Linked DNA regions of Homo sapiens: region 2 is linked to region 1. Evidence: promoter capture Hi-C in 16 types of primary human blood cells and fetal thymus (Javierre and others, 2016). All regions are on one chromosome and are shown on one strand. The core of a region is centred on a gene start or on the middle of the fragment in contact, and the rest is flanking DNA. Distances in the headings are between cores, read along the strand shown. Region 1 holds the start of SLC16A11 (solute carrier family 16 member 11). Region 2 overlaps POLR2A (RNA polymerase II subunit A).

Region 1 (6,513 bases), core at 4,014-6,513:
ATATCCTTAGCCTGGCCTTCAAGGCCTTTCAGACGGGACCCTCTGCCCAGCAGCTTAATCCTACATTATCCTCCTACACATGCTCGGTTCTCCACACAGCGGCTATTTATAGCTCCCCAAACAATAAACAATGTGCCAAGCTGGTTCATGCCTTTGTGATTTTCCACAAGCTGCTTCCTTTGCCTGGAACGCCCCTGCCCACAGATCCATCTGGCAAACTCCTACTCATCCTTCAAGACCCAGCCCAAGGGGCTCCTCTTCTGTGAAGCCTCCCAGCAGTCCTAAGAGGAATGAGTCAGTTCTTCCCATGCACCACTCTACGGTGTATGTGTCCCCGTCCTTGTGCTGAGAATTCTTTTCTTTATGTGATGATCCTCTGATTTGATTGTGGGGCTGGGAGGGGAGAGACTATATCTTATTCACATTTGTATCCCGAACCCTAAGCATAGCAGCTGGCACGCGGTAGCTGTCTATAAATATTTTGTATGAAGGACTGAATGAATAAAACTTATTTTGACTTTTTTCTTCTCTATTATTTTTTATTTATTTTTATTTTTGAGATGGAGTTTTGCTCTTGTTGCCCAGGCTGGAGTGCAATGGCGCGATCTCGGCTCACGGCAACCTCTGCCTCCCAGGTTCAAGCAATTCTCCTGCCTCAGCCTCCCGAGTAGCTGGGATTACAGGCGCCTGCCACTACGCCTGGCTAATTTTGGATTTTTAGTAGAGACGGGGTTTCTTCATGTTGGTCAGGCTGGTCTTGAACTCCCGACCTCAGGTAATCCACCTGCCTTGGCGTCCCAAAGTGTTGGGATTACAGGTGTGAGCCACTGCGCCCGGCCTTCTCTTTTGTTTTTAGAGTTAAGGCAGGGAGACCAGCATTTTCACACAAACTTTGGAAAATGCTAAGGGAAAAGAAAGAAGAAAAGCAGAAATTTCCATTGAATCTCTTTATAGCCATTCACATTTTCTAACCCATGTGGCTCTACTGAGAACTTACCAGGGCAATGTGGTGCCTTGACCTTGAGGCATGGGCAGAGGTAGCCAGGTGGGAAAGGGCTGCCGTGCTGTTAGGTCCAGCCAGGTTCCTCAACTCACAGCAATAGCGGCAATGGAGGCTGAGCGCGGTGGCTCACACCTGTAATCCCAGCACTAAGGGAGGCTGAGGTAGGTGGATTACTTAAGGTCAGGAGATCAAAACCAGCCTGGCAAATATGGTGAAACCCCGTCTCTAATAAAAATACAAAAAAATTAGCTGAGTGTGGTGGCGGGCACCTGTAATCTCAGCTACCTGGGAGGCTGAGGCTGGAGAATTCACTTGAACCTGGGAGGCAGAGGTTGTGGTGAACCTAGATTGTACCACTGCACTCCAGCCTGGGCAATAGAGCAAGACTCTGTCTCAAAAAAAAAAGAAAAAAAAAAAAAAAGAAAGAAAATAGCGGCAATGAGCTCTAACACGTATACTTTGGCACTGTTCTAAGTTCCTTACTTATATGTGTATTCACAGTGACTCATTTAATTCTTATAACAACCCATCAGGTAGCTACTGTTATTACCCCCATTGTAGAGATGAGGAAACCGAGGCACAGAGAGGTTGAGTCACACTTGCTCATAATCATATAGTTACTAAGTGGTAGAGTGTGGGCGAAAGATTACGTAGATGCCGAGGCAAGAGACTGAAGGCACAAACTGTTTCAGTGTAATAAAGAAAATAGAATAAAAATAGTCATAATACAAATGAGATATAGAGATGATCATGGACAATTATCAATCATTATTATAGACATTATTAATCATTAGCTTTTAATATTACTTTTTGTTGCATTACTAATATAACCTACGAATAACCGGCAGGTATAGGGTCAGGTGATGAAGGGACATTGTGAGAAGTGACCTAGAAGGCAAGAGGTGAACCTTCTGTCACGCTCGCATAAGGGCCGCTTGAGGGCTCCTTGGTCAAGCGGTAACGCTAGTGCCTGGGAAGACACCCATCACTTAGCAGATCGCGAAAAGGAGTGTCCTTTCCTTGGAGGAGTCAGGGAACACTCTGCTCCAGCAGCTTCTTGTGGAAGGCTGGATATTATCCAGGCCTCCCCGCAGTCATCCGGAGGCCTAAACCCCTCCCTGTGGGGCTGTGCTTCAATGCTCACGCTCCTTGTCCACTTTCATGTTCCTCCCGTACTCCTGGTTCCTCTTTGAAGTTCGTAGTACAGAGCGGTAGATGAAATAGTGAAAGTCTAAAGTCTTTGATCTTTCTTATCAGTGCATAGAAGAAAACGCTGACGTATGCTGCCTTCTGTCTCTACTTCGGCTACCTAAAAGGGAAGGGCCCTCCCGTCCTGTGATCACGTGACTTGCTGCACCTTGTCAATCACTTAGAAGATTCACCCTCCTTACCCTGCCCCCTTGTCTTGTATGCAATAAATATCAGCGCAACCAGCCGTTCGGGGCCACTACCGGTCTCCGCGTCTTGATGGTAGTGGTTCCCAGGGCCCAGCGTCTTTTCTTCTATCTCTTTGGCTTGTGTCTTTATTTGTTACAATCTCTCATCTCCGCACACGGGGAAAACACCCGCCAAGCCCCGTAGGGCTAGACCCTACAGTAGAGCTGGCATTCAACCTCAAGAAATCTAGCTTGGGAGTCCATTCTCCTAATCTCTGTGCTATTTTACCTCCGTGAGCAAAAGATGACAAGTTTTGCTAAGAATATAGGGAGCCTGAGGTAGAAGAGGAATGTGCTCTTTCACAGCCCTAGTCCCAGGCTCTGGGATACCCTTCTGGCTTCGTAAGCATCCTGCGAAGGTGCGCAGCATCACTTAGCACAACTCCCAGATGCGGAGGGCCCGGTCTTCGCTCTGACTGTCCTGCATTTCTGCGTCACCATGGGGAGACAGTGATTCGTTTAGCTTGGAGCAGAGTCTTCAGCAGCCTTCTCAGGAAGCGGGATCCCTGCCCTCCCCGGTAGCTGAGGACCTGCTGGCTCCGCCTCCCTGGTGGCTTTCATAACAGCACTCCAGGCTGGGGAAACCGGTGGGGCCACTTTCCTAAGGTGTGTCTGTCAGGACCTTCATGAACAACAGGACGTTTCAAGCAGAGAGCATGACATATGCAAAAATTAAGGAGTGAGAAAAAGCTAGGCATGTCCACAGAGCAGAGAAGACAGTGGCTGATGGGAGGCTGGCAAAAGGGAGAGAGGGGAGATGGTTTGGAACGGTAACCTAGGTCTACCTTTGATTATTGTAAAAGACCTGTACAAATAGAGAAATGTAATTTTTCCCGTCTATAGGCAATGGAGAGCCATTGCCTATAGTCATGCTGTGTCTTTTATGTTTACAGTTTTGCTCCTTAAGAAGCTGTTTTTCTTGTCTTTACGTGCAGATTCTTTCCCAATAATTAGGAAACACTGCCATCATGTGGCTCAATGGATGCATGCTCCAAACTTAAGTTGCTGAATGTTCTATCATATTGTTTAATAATTAAACCAAAGAACACATCTCTGAATTCAAAGAGCTGAGGTAAAGAATGTCAACCTATCAAAAAAGGACATTTTCTATAAAGTTTTTCAAAAAATCAATACCTGGCTTCAATGACCTGATTTTTTACTTTGCTTTTAAAATTGTAACCTGGCCAGGCATGGTAGACTGTAATCCCAGCACTTTGGGAGTCCGAGGTGGAAGGATTGCTTAAGTCCAGGAGCTTGAGACCAGCCTGTGCAACATGCTGTGACCCCCTCTCTACAAAAAAAATGAACAAATTTAGCCAGGCATGGTGGTGTGGAGCCTGTAGTCCTCGCTACTCGGGAGGCTGAGGTGGAGTATTGCTTGAGCCTGGGAGGTGGAGGCTGCAGTGAGCCATAATGGCAGTACTACACTTCAGCCTGGACAAGACCCTGTCTCTATAAATAAATACACACACACATACATACATACATACATACATACATACATACATACATACATAATAAAAAATAAAATTCTAACCTAAGTGTTTAGAGATTCTGATCTCAAGAATCCTTTCTATTCCCAGTGACCCCTTATTTTAGACTCATAAGTTTTCTGTCCCTGCAATGGTTCCACCCTTTCCAGGGCAGTTTGCTTCAAGCTGTATCCAGGATCTTTCCCTTAACTGTGCCAGATTTTGTTTCAGTCCTGGGATTGTTCTCCTTGTAGGTCCACAGTTGGACAGACCTAAATTCAAATATCCATACCATTTTTTCCCTGAGAGCTTCAGTTACTGCATCTATAAAAGAGGCACGACATCGGCCAGGCGCGTTGGCTCACTCCTGTAATCCCAGCACTTTGGGAGGCCGAGGTGGGCGGATCATCTGAGGTCAGGAGTTCCAGACCAGCCTGGCCAACATGGCGAAACCCCATCTCTACTAAAAAATACAAAAATTAGCTGGGAGTGGTGGCAGGCGCCCGTAATCCCAGCTACTCAGGAGGCTGAGGCAGGAGAATGGCTTGAACTTAGGAGGCAGAGGTTGCAATGAGCCGAGATCTCGCCACTGTACTCCAGCCTGGGCTACAGAGTGAAACTCCATCTAAAAAAAAAAAAAAAGAAAAGCGACACCTTCTTCATAGGGTTATCATAAGATGAAGTGATAGCATGTGTAAACGGTGCCTGGTACACTGCAGGTCTTCACATTGAGGGAGTCGTGTTTCATCCCTCTGTCCTTGAGGACCTGTTATTTTATTTTATTTATTTTATTTTTGTTTATTTATTTATTTTTGAGACAGAGTCTTTCTCTGTCACCCAGGCTGGAGTGCAGTGGCATGATCTTGGCTCACTGCAACTTCTGCCTCCCGGGTTCAAGCGATTCCCCGCCTCAGCCTCCCAAGTAGCTGGGACTACAGGCGCCCGCCACCACACCCGGCTAATTTTTTTTGTATTTTTAGTAGATATGGTGTTTCGCCATGTTGGTCAGGCTGGCCTCGAACTCCTGACGTCAGGTGATTCACCCACATCGGCCTCCCAAAGTGCTGGGATTACAGGCTTGCACCGCGCCCGGCCTGGGGGTCTGTTATTCTAAGCACAGAGCTGGCACTTGGTGGAGGTCTGTGATCTGATTGATATCCGAGATTTACCTGGTCCTCGGCAACGTTCCTGAGAACAAAACTACTCATCCCCTCAGGTTTTGGGGACCATCCCTATTTCCACGCGTTGGCGGTGGACCCTGGGCTCGCTGGGGTTTGCAATCCACGTGTCTCCCCTGCGCGCAGCAGGCGGCAGGTGCATGCGTGTGAGTAGGGCAGGGCCCCTCTGCATTCATTTCTCGCCGCTCCCCCCTCCCCCGGGCCTGGGGGTTGTGTGTGTACATAATTCAATCCCCGTGGGACTGGCGTCTGGCCTCACGCGCGGCTTGCCGGATTGGCTGTTTCAGCTCGCCCCCGCCCTCCGTACACCCCGCGTCCCAGGTGGCTCAGGCCCCTGTGGTGATCTCTGTTTACCGAGAGAGCCCGTCCAAGTTGGGCTCCATCGCTGCCCTCGCTCCCCTTCGGGGCCCCCGCCCGCCTGGGAAGCAGAGAGAAAGCCGGGCCCAGCCCTTCCTCACCCTTCCCCTCCCCGCACCGCCCGGAGAGGTCGGGTAAGGGGGAAGGAGTGTGCGTGGGACGGGGAACCTCGGGCCTGGGGATCTGGCTGTCCCCGTCCCCGTACCTCGCGCGGACCCGGGAGTTCCAGCCCTAGGCCAGGCTCCGGCTCCCTCCGCCCCGCGCCATCGCGCTCGGAGTGACGGGCCCACCCCGGGCGAGCAGCCAGAGGCTGGATCTCAGGGATGCCAGCTCCCCAGCGGAAGCACAGGCGTGGAGGCTTCTCTCACAGATGTTTCCCCACCCCGCAGACGGCGATGACCCCCCAGCCCGCCGGACCCCCGGATGGGGGCTGGGGCTGGGTGGTGGCGGCCGCAGCCTTCGCGATAAACGGGCTGTCCTACGGGCTGCTGCGCTCGCTGGGCCTTGCCTTCCCTGACCTTGCCGAGCACTTTGACCGAAGCGCCCAGGACACTGCGTGGATCAGCGCCCTGGCCCTGGCCGTGCAGCAGGCAGCCAGTGAGGGGGGCCCTGAGGCGGGAGACAGGAACGGGGAGGAGGAGCCGTGAGTGGAGGGATGGGAGACCCACCTGATTACCCGACAACCTGAGAAAGGGCAACCGGCTCTAGAAAAGAGTGCATCTTGAGGTCAAGGAGAAGAACCATTAGTTCGAGGGAGGCAAACAGCCAATGAGAAGTGTTGGAGAGAGTTTGGGGGCCCGGGGGCGTGTCTTCCGTTGACTCCGCCCCCTTTCAGGCCCCGTGGGCAGCGCCCTGAGCACGCGCTGGGGGGCCCGCCCCGTGGTGATGGTTGGGGGCGTCCTCGCCTCGCTGGGCTTCGTCTTCTCGGCTTTCGCCAGCGATCTGCTGCATCTCTACCTCGGCCTGGGCCTCCTCGCTGGTGAGGGAAGTGGGATGCCCGGGTCATTCAGGGTGAAGGAGGTGACAGGAGCTTGTTGGGATCTGGGGTAGCGAACGAGGCGGGGGCC
Region 2 (6,537 bases), core at 3,407-5,906, 450 kb before region 1:
AAGCACTCACACTAGATAATGGTCGATCCTGGGTTCCATACAAATCACCTGCTACTGGGACATGAACCCCAGACTTCCATCTGGGTTGAATTCTAGGTCTCTGACATCCATAGGATTTAGCCACAAAAAGAAATCAAAGTTGCTTCAGGAAAAACAAAAAAACAAAACAATGCTTTATTTGTTCCTCCCAAGCAGAAATCAAGCTCATGAATCTGAGATCCTGGCAGAAGCCTCTCTGTACCTGTACCCTCGCCATGACAGCCCAGGTGTTCTGCACCAAGACATGCCCCGCCAACTCAAGCCCCTGATAAGAAACGAGGCACTCAGAGATGCAGCCCTGTTTCTTTTCCCTCATCTTTGTCATGCCCTCCTTCTCAAGGCCTGAACTGCTTGAACCCTTTCGTGTCCAGATGGAGATTTTATTATTGGTTTTGTTTTGTTTTGAGATGGAGTCTCGCTCTGTCGCCAGGCTGGAGTGCAGTGGCGCAATCGCAGCTCACTGCAACCTCTGCCTCCCGGGTTCAAGTGATTCTCCTGCCTCAGCCTCCCAAGTAGCTGGGACTACAGGTGAGCGCCACCACATCGAGCTAATTTTTGTATTTTTAGTAGAGACAGGGTTTCACCAGGTTGGCCAGGATGGTCTCTTGACCTCATGGTCCACCCGCCTCGGCCTCCCAAAGTACTGGGATTACAGGCGTGAGCCACCGCGCCAGGCCAGAGATTTTATTAAAAGACTGGAGAAACAGGTGCTAGAAAAACAGGTTGGTGGAAATGATTTGAAGCAAAAGTGAATAGCTGGAATCCCAAGAAAGGAAGAGCCAGGACTTGATGGGGACATTTCAATGAAGGAAAGGAGGAAACAGAAGAACTCAGAAGTAGATGGGCCGGGTGCGGTGGCTCACACCCGTAATCCCTGCACTTTGGGAGGCTGAGACGGGTGGATCACCTGAGGTCAGGAGTTTGAGACCAGCCTGGCCAACATAGTGAAACCCCATCTCTACTAAAAATACAAAAAAATTAGCTGGGTGTGGTGATGGGTACCTGTAATCCCAGCTACTCGGGAGGCTGAGGCAGGAGAATCACTTGAACCCAGGAGGCGGAGGTTGCAGTGAGCTGAGATCGCACCACTGCACTTCAGCCTGAATGACAGAGCAAGACTCCGTCTCAAAAAAAAAAAAAAATTGTAATGCTATTGTACACTTAGACTTAGTAGACTACAGCATAGTACTAATGTAACATGCACAATGGCAACCAAAAAACTCCATGTGACTTGCTTTATTGCGGTGGGCTGGAACCAAACTCACAGTATCTCCAAGGTATGCTTGGATACTCATTCTCAACTCTCTAATTCCAGGCCTTACTTTTCTTCTGGACTTTGGGTTCACGTATGTGACTACCTACTGAACCCCCTGCAAACATCACACCAAAAAATCAAATTAAACATGTTTAAAAGCAAACTCTCTTTTCCACAAAAGCTTCTCTTTTTCCTTTAGTCTCTATCCCAGATTCAGAAACCTATGCTTACCTTTCCTTACCTTCAAGCACAAAACAGTCCAAAGAACATGGACTTAGCTGTCGGGCACCCTTGCTTTGGAATTCTGCCTATATTACTTATGAACTATGTAACCATTAAGGACTTAATTAGCTTGCTTAAGTCCAGGATGTAATTGGCGCTTTATGAATGGACATTATTATTATTCAGTCATTCACCAGGTACTGGTCACTTTTACCTCCCTTTTTTTTTTAAGAAGTCTTGCTCTGTCACCCAGGCTGGAGTGCAGTGGCGGGAATCTCAGCTGGGTTTACACACATAAGCCACCACGCCTGGCCTCCTAAGTGTTTCTTGAATCTTGCCTCTCTTCTCCATCCCCACCACCATTGCCCTAGTTCAGGCCCTTCCTTTGTAGTCTACAACAGAGCGTTCCTATGGGTCACCAGCCTGTCTCTCTCCAATCCTTCTACATTACAACTGGGGTGCTCATTCTAAAATAAAAATGTGTGCTAAAAATAAATAAAATAAAAATTAATAATAAACTAAAAATGTAATCATTCATACCCTCTTGTCCTCAGACTGACATCCAAACTCAGCAGGACAGCTTCCCAAAAGGATTTTATGATGTTCTCAACCTTCATTTCCCTGATGCTCCACACCTTCCTGTTCACTCCTCAGTAACAATTCCCTGGAGTCGCCTATCACATCCAGCGCAACACGTGCTGCGTTCCTCCGGGGTTTTCTATATGCTAGTGCCTCTCTGCTTGGAATGCTCTTCCCACTGCAAAACTCCTATTTCAAGACTCGGCTCAGGCACTGCTTCCTCCAGGAAGCCTTTCCACAGCCTGCCCAAAGTAGACAGGCACCCCTCCTCTGTGCTTCCACAGCCCTCTATCACTGCACATACAACAATGCAATAAAATGACCTATGGGGGTCTGTCTTCCCTATAACTATAAGCACCTCTCAGGCAGGCAGAATGCCTCAACCATCCTGAATCCCATGTGCCTGCCTGAAACATGGTGGGCTCCTAACAAATGTCTGTTAAATTGACCTACTGCTTAGGACTCTCCACTGGAGGGAGGTACCCTCAAAAAACTTGGAAAAAGAGAGGTTACCCTCTGACAGTCAAACCAGTAATCCCCTCATAATAGGTCTGATTGGCCACTGCTGGGTAGAAACCAAAATGGTCTACAGATGCAAAGCTGAAGAAGTTCTGCACACCTCTCAGCCTCAGACAGGTTCAAAACTCTCATCAACATGACCTGATGAAATCTCAGGAAGACAGTCCTCATGGATGACTACATTTGCAAAGCTGGAACCTCATCAGCTGCATTGTCTGGTGAGAAACATGAAGGGGATTTGCTCACCTTGAATGAGACCAAAAAAAGCGGAAGCAGTTACGTATCTGGCCTCCACAACAGACACTGCAGAGGGGCCTAAGAGAAATCAGGCTCAACATTTTCAACCTCTTTCTGCTCAAAGTCTATGCCGACCAAGCCAACCACCCTTCTAATGACTAATTCTGCTTTCAGGCTTTCTGAGACCGGGTCAGGGGGTGTCCTAGACAGCAGACACGCATATCCTTGTTAATGAGAAGAGCTATCCCTCCATCACCAAGTTCACGAACTCTCATTTTTTATTTTATTTTACTTTTTTTTTTTGAGACAGGGTCTTGCTGTCACCCCGGCTGGAGTGCAGTGGTACAATCTCGGCTCACTGCCACCTCTGCCTCTCAGGTTCAAGTGATTCTTGTGCCTCAGCCTCCCAAGTAGCTGGAATTACAGGTGCTCACCACACTTGGCTAATTTTTGTATTTTTAGTAGAGACAGGGTTTCACCATGTTGGCCAGGATGGTCTCAAACTCCTGGCCTCAAGTGATCCACTCACCTTAGCCTCCCAAAGTGTTGGGATTACAGTCGTGAGCCACCGCACCAGGCCTCAAACTGTCATTTTAAATTAGCCCCCAACCCTTCGGCCAACAATGGTTCTCACTGCCTACAGGATAAAGGTTAAACACTTGAGGGGGTGGCCAGTCAGGCTGGGTTCTCTTTGGGTTCTGCCCCTGAGGCCACAATAACAAAAGGGCTGTCATTGAATCTCAGTAAATACTCGTCCTCTTTCCTCTGCTTTAGCAAAGCTAACAAGGTCCTTATTACAATTTGGCTTCAAGTTGCTTTTACAGCTTTATTTGGTACCACATTCTCCTACCCGCCTCCCACATTTATGTTCTAAATACAATAGATTTCTCAAATCTCCTTTTGCTTCACACACCCCCTTGGGAGTAAACTTCTATTTATTCTTTAAGACCCAGTTCAGAGGTCACCTCCTTATGAAGTCTTCTCTAACTCTTCCTAGTCTTATGCACACCCCAGCAAGGTTCTCAGCCCAATTTTAATTACTTGGTGACACATCTGTCTCTCTCATTGGACTGTAATCCTTGAGGGCAAGGGTCATGTTTTCTCTTCATATCCTCAGCACCTAGCACAGTAACCAACATATGGTTGAGGCTCAGTAACTATTTGCTGCATACATAGGAAATCCCTCACAAGATTATAGGTAACTTGAAAACAAGGATCATCTTCTCACTCATCAATGTAGCCCACACTCTACCTAAAAGAATACATTATTGACCAGGCGCAGTGGCTCAAGCCTGTAATCCCAGCACTTTGGGACGCCAATGCAGGCAGATCACCTGAGGTCAGGAGTTCGAGACCAGCCTGGCCAACATGGTAAAACCCTGTCTCTAATAAAAATACAAAAACTAGGCCAGGTGCGGTGGCTCATGCCTGTAATCCCAGCACTTTGCGAGGCCAAGGTGGGTGGATCACAAGGTCAGGAGTTCGAGACCAGTCTGGACAACACAGTAAAATCCCGTCTCTACTAAAAATACAAAAAAGAAATTAGCTGGGTGTGGTGGCGTGCTCCTGTAGTTCCTGCTACTCGGGAGGCTGAGGCAGAAGAATCGCTTGAATCCAGGAGGCAGAGGTTGCAGTGAGCACAGACTGTGCCACTATACTCCAGCCTGGGCAACAGAGCTGGAGTCCGTATCAAAAAAAAAAAGAACAGATTACTGCTTTAAATCCTTATTTAAATAAGTCAGGGTATAAATAAGTTATGCATTCCATGATAGACAGTTGTTTTTAATGAATAGGGGTCAACTACTGCGAAGGAAATCCAGCACCCTCTTTCCCCAAAATTTTGTGCACACGCTGGTACAAAGCTCTAGTACCAACCCGCCTTGTAACCTTCCCCTCACCTAGCAACATCTAAATCCATCTTCTAACAGCAAGGACAACAGCTCTATCTCAAAGCCAATTCAAAGACCCCTCCGTACCTCCATACACTCTGACCCCTAAGACTTCTGTAAAACATTTTAGCCTAAAATACCACCTGTTTCACAACAAGAGGCACCTTACTCACCCTCACCCATCCTTCTACCCAAAATTGAACCGTCTGTTGGTCCCTCAAAATACAGACATCGTATAAACTGCAAGACATGCAGAGCACTATCGAAGCCCAACAATCCTACACCCCAGAGATGACTCTGGTAGAGCTTTGTCAACAGTGTCCCATACTTTTATTTGTTATTATTCCATCTTGGGTCAGTACAACCTCCGCCTACCAGGTTCAAGTGGTTCATATGCCTCAGCCTCCCAAGTAGCTGGGATTACAGGCACCCACGACTACACCCAGCTGCTTTTTATATTTTTAGTACAGACGGGGTTTCACTAGGCTGGACAGGATGGTCTTGAACTCTTGACCCTCGGGGATTTGCCCACCTTGGCCTCCCGAAGTGCTGGGATTACAGGAGTGAGCCACCGTGCTCAGCCCATTTGTTATTATTATTTTTAAATTGAGATAGGGTCTTGCTGTGTTGCCCAGGCTGGTCCTGAACTCCTGGCCTCAAATGATCCTCCTGCCTCAGGCTCCGAAAGTGCTGGGATTACAGGCATGAGCCACGGCATGCATTTTTTTTCATGCTTTAAAAAAACCGTAAATACGTTCCCACTTTAACATAAGGCCTTCACTCTGCATACTTCTGAGTAACTTTTTCATTTATCCATAGATTCCCTAACATTATCAACAGCCCACAGTGCCCTTACCATTTCAGTAACTCTCACAGCACTTACTAGGTCAAAAGAGAGCCACAGCCGAGCGCGGTGGCTCACACCTGCAATCCCAGCACTTGGGGAGGCCAAGGTGGGCAGATCACTTGAGGTCAGAAGTTTGAGACCGGTCTGGCCAATGTGGTGAAACCCTGTCTCTACCAAAAATACAAAAATTGCCGGGCATGGTGGCGGATGCCTGTGATCCCAGCTGCTTGAGAGGCTGAGGGAGGAGAGTAGCTTGAACCCAGGAGGCAGAGGTTACAGTGAGCTGAGATCTCACCTCTGCATTCCAGCCTAGGCAACAGAGCAAGACTCCATCTTTCCAAGAAAAGACAGCAATTTATTAAGCACCTAGACCCAAACAACTTAAGCATTTATGTCCTAGGAACTTACTAGCCATTTGAGAAAATACACACAAGTTGAAAATACTATTAATATATTAAAACAAAATAACATTTTTATTTCTTTACCAAATAACCATCTCACTCACTTATGGCGCCTGTTAGGCACTGCACCTCTCAAACCTTGGAATCAGACTAAACAGCACCACCTTTATTTCTTCTACAAACTGATTTTTGCCTGTACTTAGCAACTGCTAAAAACCCAGTTTCACAAAAATATGACATTATAGAAAGGGATTTGGCACCATCTAATGTTGAAACAGAACTACCAGGAACTAGGAGTTCCAGGGTATCTGACAAATGTACCTGTGTTTCTCTTGGAAATTTAAAATACCTCACTGTGCCCACCGTGTGCCACAGTGTCTCAGGGCATCAGCACAGTGTGGGACCTTATTGGGAAGTTCCTCTATTACATTGTAAGAATACACCCTAAGTTATTCAACAGGATTCCTATTAGTAAATACCGAGTAATTTATAATTGTCACTTTCAAACAATGTTGCAATAAAAGTCCTTCTACATTATCTATGCATATT

What was found. The method cuts DNA at HindIII sites, captures the fragments that hold promoters and counts their contacts. A CHiCAGO score of 5 or more calls a contact.
Region 2: a contact is called between a fragment that was not itself captured here and the fragment with the promoter of SLC16A11 in region 1, in 1 of 17 cell types (monocytes). The highest score is 5.3, in monocytes.

What each region holds. Positions count from the first base shown.
Region 1 is chr17:7,042,842-7,049,354 of GRCh38, reverse strand. It overlaps SLC16A11 (solute carrier family 16 member 11), which reads left to right and starts at 5,263. Exons shown (of 5, transcript NM_001370549.1): 1 at 5,263-5,580; 2 at 5,836-6,043; 3 at 6,282-6,425. The coding sequence starts at 5,842. LOC124903909 (a long non-coding RNA gene) reads right to left here and starts at 6,288. Exons shown (of 2, transcript XR_007065598.1): 1 at 6,115-6,288; 2 at 1,775-3,173. RefSeq lists enhancers at 2,255-2,304, 2,375-2,444, 2,505-2,574 and silencers at 5,657-5,786, 5,857-5,916. The HindIII fragment of the contact is 13,319 bases long and covers 1-6,513 here.
Region 2 is chr17:7,489,183-7,495,719 of GRCh38, reverse strand. All of the region lies in intron 1 of POLR2A (RNA polymerase II subunit A), which reads right to left. Among named protein-coding and RNA genes, the nearest start is that of POLR2A, 8.1 kb to the right of the region's middle. The HindIII fragment of the contact is 6,358 bases long and covers 1,478-6,537 here.